3 separate regions of the Homo sapiens genome follow, and all the other regions are linked to region 3. Evidence: promoter capture Hi-C in 16 types of primary human blood cells and fetal thymus (Javierre and others, 2016). All regions are on one chromosome and are shown on one strand. The core of a region is centred on a gene start or on the middle of the fragment in contact, and the rest is flanking DNA. Distances in the headings are between cores, read along the strand shown. Region 1 overlaps DDX54 (DEAD-box helicase 54). Region 2 has its middle 2.9 kb from the start of SDS. Region 3 holds the start of OAS1 (2'-5'-oligoadenylate synthetase 1).

Region 1 (4,693 bases), core at 1,279-3,778, 260 kb before region 3:
ACAACCCTGCAGAGAGGTGGGAGGTGTTGTAAGCTCCATTCCTCCCCAAACTGGCATCACCCAGCAAGCTGGGATTCAGACCAAGGGTGCCAGACTCCAGAACCCGTGGTCTTGTCTCTGCACCTCAGTGCCCGTCCCCCGCCATGGTCTGGCTTCCTTTCCTTTCTCCTCCAAGTCTCCTTCTCACTTTGCTACCATCTTTGCTCTGAGCAGCTGCTGACGACCCAGCGGGTGAGCTGCGCCCACATCTACAGTGCCCTAGACCCGACAGCCCGCAAGATCAATCTCGCCAAATTCACGCTTGGCAAGTGCTCCACTCTCATTGTGACTGACCTGGCCGCCCGAGGCCTGGACATCCCGCTGCTGGACAATGTCATCAACTACAGCTTCCCCGCCAAGGGCAAACTCTTCCTGCACCGCGTGGGTAAGCAGCCCGTGGCTGGCCCTGGGGCAGGCAGGGGTGCCGGATCCTGGCAGAAGCCGAGGGTACAAGGCTTAACTCTTGACACTGCACATGGGGTGGCTGTGGGCCTTGTTTTAGAGACAGAGCCTCGCTATATTGCTTAAGCTGGTCTCAAACTCGCGATCGTGCCACTGCGATCCAGCCTGGGTGACGGAGCAAGATCTTGTCTCAAAAAAACCAAAAAAAAAAAACAACCCAATTATTCAGCTTATGGTTTTTTTGACTTTACAATAGCACCCATACAGCTGTTCTATTTTTTTCTTTCAGTACAGTATTCAATAAGTTACATGAGATACTCAACACTTTATTTTAAAATCGGCTATGTGTGGGATGATTTTGCCCAAGGGTAGGCTAATGGAAGTATTTGGAGCATGCTCAAGGCAGGCTGGCTGAGCTGCGATGTTTAGTGGGTTAGGTGCCGTGCGTGTGTTTTTGACGGCTATTGGGTTTATTGAGACGCAGCCCTTCGTAAGTCACGGAACAGCTGTGGTCTCATTTCAGAGATCACTGTCCCCCATTGCTCTCTGATGACATGGCCGTCATTTTGGTGTGTGTCCATTCTTCTGATGTTTCTATTTTAAGTTGTGGTAAAGTAGACATAGCATGCAATTCAGCATTTTGCCATTTCCCAGTGTGCAGTGGAGTGGCATTGAGTCTGTTCCCATTGTGCAACTGTCACCACCATCTGTCCCCAAAACTTTTTTTTTTTTTTTTGAGAGTCTTGCTTTGTACCCCAGGCTGGAGTGCAGGGGTGTGATCTCGGCTCACTGCAACCTTCACCTCCCAGGTTCTAGCTATTCTCTTGCATCAGCCTCCCGAGTAGCTGGGATTACAGGTGCTCGCCACCAGGCCCAGCTAATTTTTTGTGTTTTTAGTAGAGACAGGGGTTTCACCATGTTGGCCAAGGTGGTCTTGAACTCCTAACCTCAAGTGATGCATCTGCCTCAGCCTCCCAAAGTGCTGTGATTACAGGCGTGAGCCACCATGCTTGGCCCCAGAACTTTTCCATCTTGCAAAATTGAAGCTCTATCCGTCAGACAAAATCTCCTTATTCCCCTCCCGCAGCCCCTGGTAACTGTTATTCTACTTTCTTTGCCTTCTTTTAATTCATAAGTGTCATGTGGTGGGTGCACTTCCCCCTTGTTGCTGTCTGCTGTCCCCTAGTTTCTGTTGCTGTGTGGAGAGCTGGTTCTGCATGTCCCTAGGGAGGTCCCCAGGACGCCCCCAAAGGGAATTTCTTGTGCCTCACAAGACCAACAGTGCCGGTCAGACAACCTCAAATGAAATCTCCAAATGTCATAACACCTTGTTTTCCCAAGATACAGAGACAAACCAAAATATAATGCTATGTAGTGATTTAGGTACTTCATGCAAAATTGCAATCATATTGGGTGTTCTTTTTTATAACTGGCTTTTTGTTTTTTTCTTTTTACATCACCATACATCACGAATGTTTTTCGTTTACTATGAAATGTCATTCTGTGATGGGTTGGCACATCTTTTCTGTAAGGGGCTAGACATGAAACGTTAGGCTTTGTGGACCATACTGTCTCTGTCATAACTGTTCATCTCTGCTGCTGTCGTGTGACTGCTGCCTATTCATTTATATAGATAATATATAAACAAATGAGTGTGGCTGTGTTCCAATAAATCTTTATTTACACAGACAAGCAGGGGGCCGGGATCTCACTCTGTTGCTTGGGCTCTAGTGCTGTGGCATGATCATAGCTCACTGTAAGCTTGAACTCCCAGATTCAAGCAATCCTCCCAGCTCAGCCTCCCAAGTACTTAGGGCTACAGGCACACACCATCACATCTGGCTAATTTTCGTTTTTTGTAGACATGGGGTCTTGCTATTTTGCCCAGGCTGTTCTCGAACTCCTGGCCTCAAGTGATTCTCCCACCTCAGCCCCTCAAAGTGCTGTGATTACAGGCGTGAGCCACCAGCCTGGCCCTGTAGGCTGCAGTTTGCCCACTCTTTTCCTGAGCTGTTTAATTCCCACTGTGTGGCCATCAGCTAATTCACTTATCTAGTCCTCTACCCTTGAGACTTTAGTTTCCAACTTGGGGCTGTCCTAGTCAGGGCCACACTAAACCTCCTTGTGTGTGAATCTTTACATCTTTGCGGGGAATTCTCAAAAGTGGGGACACTGAAGAGTTTTGATCATGCTCATGAGCAGGGCCTTGCTGTATTTTTGCTAGTCTCCCAGAGCACTGTGTCAGCTTGGGCACACTCTCACAGATCAACCTAGGGACCGGGATTAAACTTCCCTGTGCGTAGGTGGGGACAGCAGCCGTGTGAGGTTCGAGGCTTGGCCAGGCTCACCTGCTCAGGGTCTGGCCTGTGGAACTCATGCTGGGTCCGGGTCCTTCTTTGCTTAATTAAGCTTGAACGTCTCCTTGCTGCAGGCCGTGTGGCTCGGGCTGGCCGAAGTGGCACAGCCTACTCCTTGGTGGCCCCTGATGAAATCCCCTACCTGCTGGATCTGCACCTGTTCCTGGGCCGCTCCCTCACCCTCGCCCGACCCCTCAAGGAGCCCTCAGGTGAGTGGAGGCTGGGTGGGGATAGGGGTCCCCGTGGAGTTCATGGGCCCTGTTTTGGCTGTGGGAGGAGGTAGGGCTGGGTTTGACCCCAGCAGAAGATGATTCCTTTTATTTATTTTATTGTATTTTATTTGTTTTGTTTATTTTTTGAGACAGAGCCTCGCTCTGTTGCCCAGGCTGGGGTGCAGTGGTGTGATCTTGGCTCACAGCAACCTCTGCCTCCCAGGTTCAAGCCATTCTCTTGCCTCAGCCTCCCGAGTAGCTGGGACTATAGATGCCCGCCACCACGCCTGGCAAATTTTTTATTGTATTTTTAGTAGAGACAAGGTTTCACCATGTTGGCCAGGCTGATCTCGAACTCCTGACCTCAAGTGATTCGCCCACCTCCCAAAGTGCTGGGATTACAGGTGTGAGTCACTGCGCCCGGCTGATTCCTTCTATTTTTTAACGAGACGGGGTCTTACTCTTGCTCAGGCTGGAGTGCAGTGGTGCGATCATGGCTCGCTGCAACTTCCAACTCCTGGGCTCAAGCAAGCCACTATGCCTGGCTAATCCCTCTATTTTAAACTCAGGATTTCCCACAACAATCCAGATTTCTGGTATCTACTGGGAAACAGTTGGATCTGGGTGCTAAGCTGTGGCACCCCCATTAGACAGGCTTCCTGGTCCCCTGCAGCCCCTGCCTGCCTCCCCTTCCTGTCAGTGTGGCCTGCCCAGCCCCTGCAGGCATCTAGTGTGTGACCCTATACTTGATGAGTTTTCAGGGGAGCGCAGCGGAGGGAAAGAGAGGCTGAGGCTCATTCAGACCAAGCCCACAGGACATTTTTAATTTATTTATTGAGACAGAGTTTCGCTCTTGTTGCCCAGGCTGGAGTGCAGTGGTGCAATCTTGGCTCACCACAACCTCCGCATCCTGGGTTCAAGCGATTCTCCTGCCTCAGCCTCCCGAGTAGCTGGGACTGCAGGCACACACAACCACGCCCAGCTAATTTTGTATTTTTAGTAGAGACAGGGTTTCACCATGTTGGCCACGCTGGTCTTGAACTTCTGATCTCAGGTGATCTGCCCGCCTCGGCCTCCCAAAGTGCTGGAATTACAGGCGTGAGCCACTGTGCCCAGCCGCCCACAGGACATTTCTGTATACATCCTAGAATGGGAATGCATGGGACAGACAATAGCAATCACCATGGCCTCCATCTGTGGGCCTCCAACTATGGGCCTCCACCTGCAGTCCTGCTGGTTCCCGGGCCCTGGACACATCTTGTCTCATTTGTCCATCTGTGCTAGAGGGAGGGCTGTCATCACCTCTGCTTCACAGATGAGAGAACGGCTCTGACAGGCCTACCCGCATGCACACAGCAGGGAGGTGGGGAGCTGAGATTCAGGCCCCCCCAGAGGCCCAAGACTCAAGCTCAGAGAGCTGAGGCGGCTTCCTCCGGACAGCCTAGCCAGTGGTCAGCAGAGAGCGCAGCCCTCAGAGCTCCGGGCCCCCTCTGCCTCGGCTGTTCACTCTTGGCTGCCAGTGGTGGTCTCTGTCCAGGCCACGGCCCCCTCAGGTGACCATGTGGCCCTGCAGTGTCCCAGCCCATGCCTGGAGGCGGCTGGAAAGCAGACACCATAGCAGAAAGTCTGGGGTCAGATGCAAGGGCACAGGAAAGGGCTGCGGGGCCTGGCCGGGGTGGGGGG
Region 2 (4,804 bases), core at 2,251-4,750, 500 kb before region 3:
GTAGAGACAGGGTTTCACCATGTTGCCCAGGCTGGTCTCGAACTCCTGACCTCAAGTGATCGGCTTGCCTCAGCCTCTCAAAGTGCTGGGATTACAGGAGTGAGCCACCGCACCCAGCCTGTTTTGGATTGCAGGTTTAGGAGCAGACTGCCTGGGTTCTGAGGCCAGCTCCTCCCTCTTATTGCCTGGGTGATCTTGGGCAAATGACAATCTCATGTGCCTGTTTCCCTTTCTGTAAGATGGAGATAATAACAGTACCCGCGTCCTCTGTGGTTTGGTACTTGCTGAGGGCTCAGTGGCTGTTAGACATTCTAGCTTTATTACTGTTATTGTTTCTTGGGCACCTACTACGTGCCAAGCACATGCTAGCAACTTTAAGTGCATTATCTCACACAATCCTTATTCCATTTTCCTAACGGTCCTTGGAAAATAGATATTGTCCCCATTTGCAAGTGAAGAAACTATAAATCAAGAAGTATCAGGCCGGGCTCAGTGGGTCATGCCTGTAATCCAGCACTTTGGGAGGCCAAGGTGGGCAGATCACTTGAGGTCAGGAGTTCGAGACCAGCCTGGTCAACATGGTGAAACCCCGTCTCCACCAAAAATACAAAAAATTAGCAGGGCATGGTGGTGGGTGCCTGTAATCCCAGCTACTCAGGAGGCTGAGGCAGGAGAATTGCTTGGACCCAGGAGGCAGAGGTTGCAACAACCCAAGATCTCACCACTGCACTCCAGGCTGGGCAACAGGGTGACTCCATCTCAAAAAAAAAAAAAAAAAAGGAAGTATCTGAGGCAGTTCTCAATCGATTTAAAAGTTTATTTTGCCAAGGTTAAGGGCAAGGGCACAACCAGAAGACAGGTCCTTGCCTTTCTCCATAGATGATTTTACGTCTTCAATATTTAAAGGGGAAAAGCAGGCTGGAAGCTGGAAGGAAAAGAAAGAGGGTACGGTCACACTACTGAACCCACATGTTTCAAGAGAAGAGGAGCAGGTAGGGGAATAGTCAGTTATGTGTTTGTCTCATATTTAAGCTTCTACTGTAGCTCTCTGCTTAGGAACGAAAGGAAAGGCCGCTTCTTGCATGACTCAGCTTCCAGCTCAATTTTGGCAGAGTGAATTGGTGTCCCAAGTTTTGTGAATCCTGAGAAAGCATTTGGGCTCACAGTCTCTATTTTTCTGATAAAGTATCTGATTTAAGTACTTTTTTCTTTAAATCATTTCATTAGAGCTCTGTTGTCTATTTTTAGTAGTAACATTAGATACATGTATTAGACACAGACAGAGGTAGATCTTATAAATTCATAAGACTTCCTTTTTTTTCCTCCTATTTAAGACTTTGAATTTCTTTTTCTTTTCTTCTTTGTTTCTTTCTTTTTTTTTTTTTTTTCTGAGACAGGGTCTCACTCTGTTGCCCAGGCAGGAGTGCAGTGGTGTGGGCATGGCTCACTGCAGCCTCAACCACTCAGGCTCAAGTGATCCTCCCACCTCAGCCTTCCAAGTAGCTTGGACTATAGTTGCATGCCACCATACCCAGCTAATTTTTTATTTTTTGTAGAGATGGGGTCTCACTATGTTGCCCAAGCTGGTGTCAAACTCCTGGGCTTAAGCCATCCTCCCACCTAGGCCTCCCAACATGCTGGAATTAGTGCTAGTCACCCTACGCCCAGCCCAACCTCTAATTTCTGGATAACCTGTTTCATTACCCTAGGCAACTGCCAGCTAGATAGCCTTAAATTTACATACTAAATAAACAACTCTTAGATGAAAATCAGATAGCAAAATGTTTATCTCAAAGTAGAGAAAGAGAGAAAAGAGAGTCTGGGTGTGTTAGAGAGATTTAAAATGGATGCCACAGCTGGCATGGTGGCTGACACCTGTAATCCCAACACTTTAGGAGGCTGAGATGGGAGGATGGCTCGACCTCCTCCCATCTCAGGAGTTCAAGACCAGCTTGGGAGGCTGAGGTGGGAGGATTGTTTGAGCCTGGGAAGTCAAGGCTGCAGTGAGCCATGATCGCACCACTGTACTCCAGCCTGAGCAACAGAGTCTCAAAAAAAAAAAAAAAAGCAAATCAAATCAAACATTAAGTTATAGAAATCTATCAAATAAATATATTTTATTTAGATAGGTAGTTTTACATTTAGTTTCTATCTTTTAACTGGAACTCAGAGCTCTGGACAGAGCCCACACTGAATCCCGGGTCTCCAAAGAGAATGATATGGTGGACCTAGGCTGTGTGATGCTTTTACAGTGTACTTTGTTGCAAAGACATTTCTCTAAGGGTCTAAACCATACTCTCTCTTATCTTTAAAAAAAATTTTTTTATATATAACTAGGCCCACACATCCAGACCCTCTCCTGTTTTAAACATTCAAGAGTAGCCCCTGTTGTAATAAAGATTTTAGTCAAAAAAGAAGTCAGGTAACACACAACAAAAGCAAGCAGTTGAAGATCTGAGAGGAACTTATCTGTTTATATTCTTAGGGCTCCATAAGGTTATGGAAAAACAGAGGTTTCTCCCCAAAAAGGAGTCTGGCACTTTCTCTGTTTTCCTTAAGGGAGTCCCAAGCTGTTAGAAATTATTTTAGGTTCCTTGAGCTGTAGAGGGTGGCAAGAGAAAGGAGACAGGCAGAAGTAAATTGGAAAAAACAGAAATCAGTCAACTGAGAAGAAAAAAGAAAACTTTTTCTCAAAAAACAAGATCCTGGCCAAGTGGGGCGGCTCTCACCTGTAATCCCAGCACTGTGGGAGCCTAAGGCCGGTGAATAACTTGAGGCCAGGAGTTCAAGACCCGCCTGGCCAACATGGTGAAATCCTGTCTCTACTAAAAATACAAAAACAATAGCCCAGTGTGGTGGTGTGCGCCTGTAATCCCAGCCACTTGGGAGGCTGAGGCAGGAGAACCACTTGAACCCAGGGAGTGGAGGTTGCAGTGAGCTGAGATCATGCCACTGCACTCTAGCCTGGACGACAGAGTAAGACTCCATCTCAAAAAAAAAACAGATCCTAAGAGAGAAAAAAATGCATTAAGGCCCTATGAATAAATAAATAAATAAATACACACACACACACACACACACACACATCTTAGATATTCGCCTTTAATTAAGCTTTTAACCATTGAGCTCTTTAAAAAATCCTTTTAAATCTCATCACCATATTTTAGCTGGGACAAACTGCTAATATTTCAAAAGTAACACAAACATCAAACCAGAAAGGACTTGATTTAGGAACCAAGCCCAGGCCACGGTGGTGAAAAAGGAACAGAATCTTAGCTACTGAACTAGCGTGAGGTGACAGCCATGTAGCCTCTTTCAGTTTGGCTTGGCTAGCAAAAGATGGCCTTGTTATGTAAATAATGCCCCTCAGGTAATCAAAATCCTTGTCTCTCTCTCTCTTTTTTCTTTTGCTGGCTGTTTTTTCTTTTTCCTTTTTTTTTTTTTCCAGCTGTGGGTATTTAGCCAATTCATGAGACCTTGTTCGCCATAATATGAAACTTTCCTTCAGATTTGACCAAGTCAAATGGAGTTGGTCCAGTCCAATGGGGAAAAGACAGAAGCAACAAAACAACAACAGAAACAAAAACAGTTAAGCAAGGGAAACAAACAATCAAGCAATTTATACGATTACTGCACGCTCTAAAAGTAGGGAGAAATTAAGACCAGCTGGTTGTTAACCCTAACTTCTAGTCATGGGGCCCAGGCTGAAGACCGCTCTCTACCATCCTAGAAGCGGGGAAATCTCAAACTTGCCTTCCCTGCCGGACACAAGCGAAACTCCAGAAAGGAGCTGCCTGCTTGCCATCATCATGGAAGCCAGAAAACTCACCTTCCTTGTTGGAAGTGAGTAAAACGCAGAAAAGGAGCTGTTCAGGGAAATCAAGCTTAGATATCAACCAATTGTGGGAGATCAGGAGTTCTCTGGAGGTGGGGAGCTCCCAGGCCTCAGCAAACTGTCCTATTTTGGAGGGCAATCAAGATCGCTCAAGGCCGGCATGGTGGCTCACGCCTGTAATCCCAGCACTCTAGGAGACTGAGGCGGGTGGATCACTTGAGGTCAGGACTTCAAGACCAGCCTGGCTAACATGGTGAAACCCCATCTCTACTAAAAATACAAAAAATTAGCTGAGTGTGGTGGCACATGCCTATACTCCCAGTTATTTGGGGGGTTGAAACAGGAGCATCGCTTGAACCCAGGAGATGGAGGTTGCAGTGAGCCAAGATCATGCCATTGCACTCCAGCCAGGGTGACAGAGCAAGACCCACCAAGCACCAGTAGGAGACTTGTCAAAGGTCAGGGCCACCTCCACCCAGGGTCCCTTTCATGAGTCTCCAATCTGTAAATCAAAAAGAATCAAAAAGATTGAGACAGGACTCAATCCATTTAGAAATTTATTTCGCCAGGGTTAAGAATGCACCTGGGAGACAGGTCTGTGCTTTTCTCCAGAGATGACTTTAGGTGTCAGTATTTAAAGGAGAAAAGCAAGCTGGAGGGGAAAGAAGGAGGCTATGGCCACATTACCAAATCCACAGTTTGTAAGAGAAGAGGGGCAGATAGGGAAGTAGCCAATTATGTATTTGTCTTGATCTCAATAAATCGGCACTTTACATAAGATAAGGTGAACATAGAGTAGCGACCTGTGGAGATATTTAACTTTTTTTTTTCTTTCTGTTGTGAAGGCTGGAGTGCAGTGGCGAGATCTAGTCTCACTGTAACCTCTGCCTCCCAGGTTCAAGCAATTCTTGTGCCTCAGCCTCCTGAGTAGCTAGGATTACAGGCACGTGCCACCACACCCGGCTGATT
Region 3 (4,423 bases), core at 1,295-3,794:
AAAATTTTTAGTAGAGATGAGGTTTCACTTTGCTGCCCAGGCTGGTCTTGAACTCCTGGGCTCAAGCGACCCTCCTGCCTCAGCCTCCAAAAGTGTTGGAATTACAAGCATGAGCCACCACACTTGGCTGGAAGTTCCTATTTTTGAACACCTATTACTCATCAGAGCTGAATGTAGATGATCATTTATCACTTAAAATAATGATATGATACAGGTAGTGTGGTTTTACCAATTCTCCTGATGTGGCAAGGGAGCCTCTGAGAGGTTACACTTCCTGTCCAAATGTTCCTGCAAATTATAAATATCTATCTCCCAACGTGCTGCATACGTTTGATGAGATCTCATGTTGGGACAAAGATGAGAGTAACATGAACTTTAAGCCACATCTTTGCTGCCTGATTTTAGAAAGATAAAATTCACACATTTTGCCTTAAACAGAACCAGTAAGCCTTGCAGATGTTCTGTAAGAAATGTCTTTGTCCCCACATTATGCCAATTTGCTGTTTAATGTCTCTCCTGTGATAGATCATGACCGTATTCATTCTTGCCCCGGGACAGATCCTAAGATCTCCTCCCACCCTGCTTTAGAGAGATGCCCTGTTGGGGCAAAAAGCTCTCAAACTGTGGGAGATTTCTGCTCAGAAATGGGAAGAGGGAGAAAAAGAAGCTGGGAGCTCTCACCCAGGGCATCAAAGGCAGGCAGCACATCGAACTCCACCCCCTCCCCGAGCTGGAGCGAACTCAGTACGAAGCTGAGCGCACGGGGGTTGCCCCAGCGTGGAGCCTGGACCTCAAACTTCACGGAAAATGCTCTCTCTCTTTGACAGGCTTCCAGCTGTCTCCTAATTTCCTGGATGAACTCTCCCCGGCGATTTAACTGATCCTGAAAAGTGGTGAGAGGACTGAGGAAGACAACCAGGTCAGCGTCAGATCGGCCTCTGAGGGTGGTGCCCTTGCCTGAGGAGCCACCCTGAAAAAGACGACAAAAATAATAATTGATGCTTAGTGAGGCAAACCTCCCTAAATAAAATGACAGGAGCAATCACTAACATTATGGAGCACTAGCCACTGTTCTGAAGGCATTGCATGTCTTAAACTCCTATAATGCTCACAATGATGCTATGATTTGGATGCCATTATCATTAGTTCCCATTTTACAGATGGGAAAATGGATGCTCAGTGAGATAATATATCAGCCCCATCACCCAGCTAGTAGGTGGCAAATACAATTCAAACCTGGGGGCCTTCTTCCAGGATCTGTGTTCTTTTCCCATTGTCCTTTACGATGCCCAGGACTAGCTTATGCTGGGTGGTTCACACTTACTATTTTACTTAATCTACACGGCCCTATGAGGTATTGAGGGAAAGTAGAGGAAAAATCAGTTAGGTAAATGGTCAAGGCTGGGCCCTGGAGGAGCGGCCTGCCTGAAACTGGCGCAGGGAGTGGGACTTACCTAAAACAAATCCACAGTTATACATACAAGAGAAGCAGCGCTTTATGCTTGCCTAGAGATATACCCACAGCTGCATAAGGTAAGGGAAGTTGCACAGCTTTACTGATAAAAAGTTTCTCAAACAGTTACAGGGAGGAGAGTGGTTTCTTATAAAAGTTTTTTGCATTCAGCTGCAATCTGGCAATCCACTCAGACTTCCCTCTCCACAGTGGAGACAGCTTTCTTCTTTTGCTTACTGAACTTTTGCTCCAAGCTCACGTTTGTGTCCATGTTCCTTAATTTTCTTGGATGCAGGACAAAGAACCTTGGGTACTAATTCAGTGAGAAGCTGCTACATTAAGGTGCACTGGCAAGACTGCAACAGTATTGGGGATTATGGCTGAGGAAATTGGAACACAGAGTAGTTAAGTGACTTGCTCAAGGTCTTGCAGCCAGCAGGTGCTATTTGCTTTCAAAACATATGATTCTTCACTGCAGAAATGGTGAGCCCCTAGCCTGGCCACGAATTAGCAAACTGTTTACCAGAGCTGGGATTCAGTTCCCTATTTCTGAAATGGGCATCGCCCAGGACAGTGGTTCATAAACTTCAGCGGGAAGTAGGGGGGAGGGTCACTTGTTAATAATAGGGATGTAGGATTTCACCCCAGAATCTATTTTAACATGCTGTGTGGATAAATAAGAAACCACCATCCCAGAAGATCTCAGCTCTCTGTACTCACATTTGCACCCTGGGTTCTAGGTTTTTGCTTCTCTCTCTCTCTCTCTCTCATTCTCAATCTCAACTCTTGCACATTCAGCCACCCCTCCCCTGGCCAGGCAGGCCTGGACTCACCTTTACCACCTTGGACACACACACAGGGTAGGAGCTACCTCGGAAGCACCTTTCCTTCAGGAACCCACAGATGATGTCAATGGCATGGTTGATTTGCATGCGGAAACACGTGTCTGGCAAGAGATAGTCTTCAATGAACTTGTCCAGAGATTTGGCTGGGGTATTTCTGAGATCCATCATTGACAGGAGAGAGAGTGGCAACAGAACTGCCTCCCAGACCTGTTTGCTTTTATCTCTTCTGCTGACTGAGCTTGGACTGCTGTTGGTTTCGTTTCCTCAGAAGGGAGGAGCTGTCTTTGCACTTTCCTTTTGCAAATCAGACACTCCCCTGATCCCAGTGCTGAATTTCATCTGCTCACTCTTCTGCTTCCTGAAACTTACCCTTTGTCCTTTAGCCAGCAACAAGCAGCCCAGCCTTTCTCTGAACTCTGCTCTGGAAATGCATTTTAACCTCCAGCCAACATAAATCTTATTTAACAGATTTTGTGTTTCCTTCTTTATCTTTTTTTTGTTGTTGATGAAATCCTTTCACAGTTGTCTGTGGTATTTTCCAGCAATACATGCCCACTGCAAAAAGAAAAAAAGTCAGAAAAACCAGGAAGTGGAAAGATCATCTATGATTCTAACACTACAAAATTGCCTCTATAAACGTTTTGATATAGAGCTTTCCAGATTTTTTTCAAATGTTAACACACACACAAACACAGGTCTCTTTTCTTTTTGTTAAGAATGGTATTATACTATGCTTTTTTCCCTTTCAATTAGTAGATTTTTATTTTATTTTATTATTTTTTGGAGACAGGATCTTGCTTTGTTATCCAGGCTGGAGTGCAGGGGCATGATCATGACTCGTGCAACCTCAACTTCCTGGGTTCAAGGGATCCTCCTGCCCCAGCCTCCTGAATACCTGGGACTACAGGCATGCGTTACTGCACCCAGCTCATTTTTTATTTTTTGTAGAGACAAGGTCTTGCTATGTTGCCCAGGTTGGATTTTATTTCTCACAGCAGTTTTAGGCTTACAGAAATATTGAGCTGAATGTGCAGAGAGTTCCATAAGCTCTCTCTCCTGCCAATAAGTTCCTCTATTATTAACAGTACTGTGATACATTTGTTACAATTGATGAATTGATATTAATACATCATAATTAACAAAAGTCCATTTACATTAAGGTTTACATTAAGGTTCACTCTTGTGTCCTACAGTTCTATGGATTTTGCCAAACATAACATGTCATGTATCCACCATTACAGCACCATGCAGAATAGTTTTGAGATAGGAGGTGGGGCTTGACTCAGGGCCAGATTGAAGACTGGCTGGCATGAGCACCAGCACCATGAACAGTTTACTCATTCCCTGGCAATGACCCAGTTACCACCCTTCTTCTAGAAATTTCTGAATAACCTGCCCTTAATTTGCACGTATTTAAAAGTGGGTATGAATGTGACTATAGAAGTGCCCTGAGCTGCTGCTCTCCAGGCACTGCCTATGGGGTGGCCCTGCTCTGCAGGGACAGTCACAGAACTGTAACCCTGCTGCCTCAATAAACCTTTTTCTTCCTCCTCTAGCTCACCCTTGAATTCCTTCCTGGACGAAGCCAAGAGCCTTCCCGGACGGTGTCCCAGTTTTGGGGCTCCCCTGCCCTGCAAGAGTTTCACTACCTTAAAATCCCCTATGCCTCACCTGTTCATCCCTCTCTGAGTTAGATCTTTCTTCTCCTAATATATGCATTCAATGCTATAACTTTCCCTCTAAACACTACTTTCACTACATCCCACACTTTTTGATAGGCTGTTTTTTCATTTTAATTTAATTCAAAATATATTTATTTATTTTGTTGAGACAGGGTCTCACTCTGTTGCCCAGGCTGGGGTGCAGTGGCACAATCTTAGCTCACTGCAGCCTTGACCTCCTGGGCTCAGGTGATCCTCCCACCTCAGCCTCCCAAGTAGCTGGGACTACAGGTACATGCCACCATGCCTGGCTAATTTTTGTATTTTTTGTAGAGATGGGGTTTCTGCATGTGGCCCAGTCTGGTCTCGAACTCCTGGGCTCAAGCGATCCATCTGCCTCAGCCTCCCAAAGTGCTAGGATTATAGGCGTAAGCCACTGAGCCTGGCCCAAAATATTTTAAAAT

Evidence for each region. Contacts are between HindIII fragments. The CHiCAGO score rates a contact against its expected background, and 5 or more counts as called.
Region 1: a contact is called between a fragment that was not itself captured here and the fragment with the promoter of OAS1 in region 3, in 2 of 17 cell types (naive B cells and naive CD4 T cells). The highest score is 6.8, in naive B cells.
Region 2: a fragment that was not itself captured here is called in contact with the fragment with the promoter of OAS1 in region 3 in 1 of 17 cell types (naive B cells); the score reaches 5.7 in naive B cells.

What each region holds. Positions count from the first base shown.
Region 1 is chr12:113,168,084-113,172,776 of GRCh38, reverse strand. DDX54 (DEAD-box helicase 54) reads left to right here. Exons shown (of 20, transcript NM_024072.4): 11 at 214-424; 12 at 2,873-3,007. Among named protein-coding and RNA genes, the nearest start is that of MIR7106, 11 kb to the right of the region's middle. The HindIII fragment of the contact is 648 bases long and covers 2,205-2,852 here.
Region 2 is chr12:113,404,372-113,409,175 of GRCh38, reverse strand. No RefSeq gene overlaps it. Among named protein-coding and RNA genes, the nearest start is that of SDS, 2.9 kb to the right of the region's middle. The HindIII fragment of the contact is 773 bases long and covers 3,114-3,886 here.
Region 3 is chr12:112,905,083-112,909,505 of GRCh38, reverse strand. OAS1 (2'-5'-oligoadenylate synthetase 1) reads right to left here and starts at 2,544. Exons shown (of 6, transcript NM_016816.4): 1 at 2,287-2,544; 2 at 682-970. The coding sequence starts at 2,466. RefSeq lists an enhancer at 2,264-2,703. The HindIII fragment of the contact is 17,002 bases long and covers 1-4,423 here.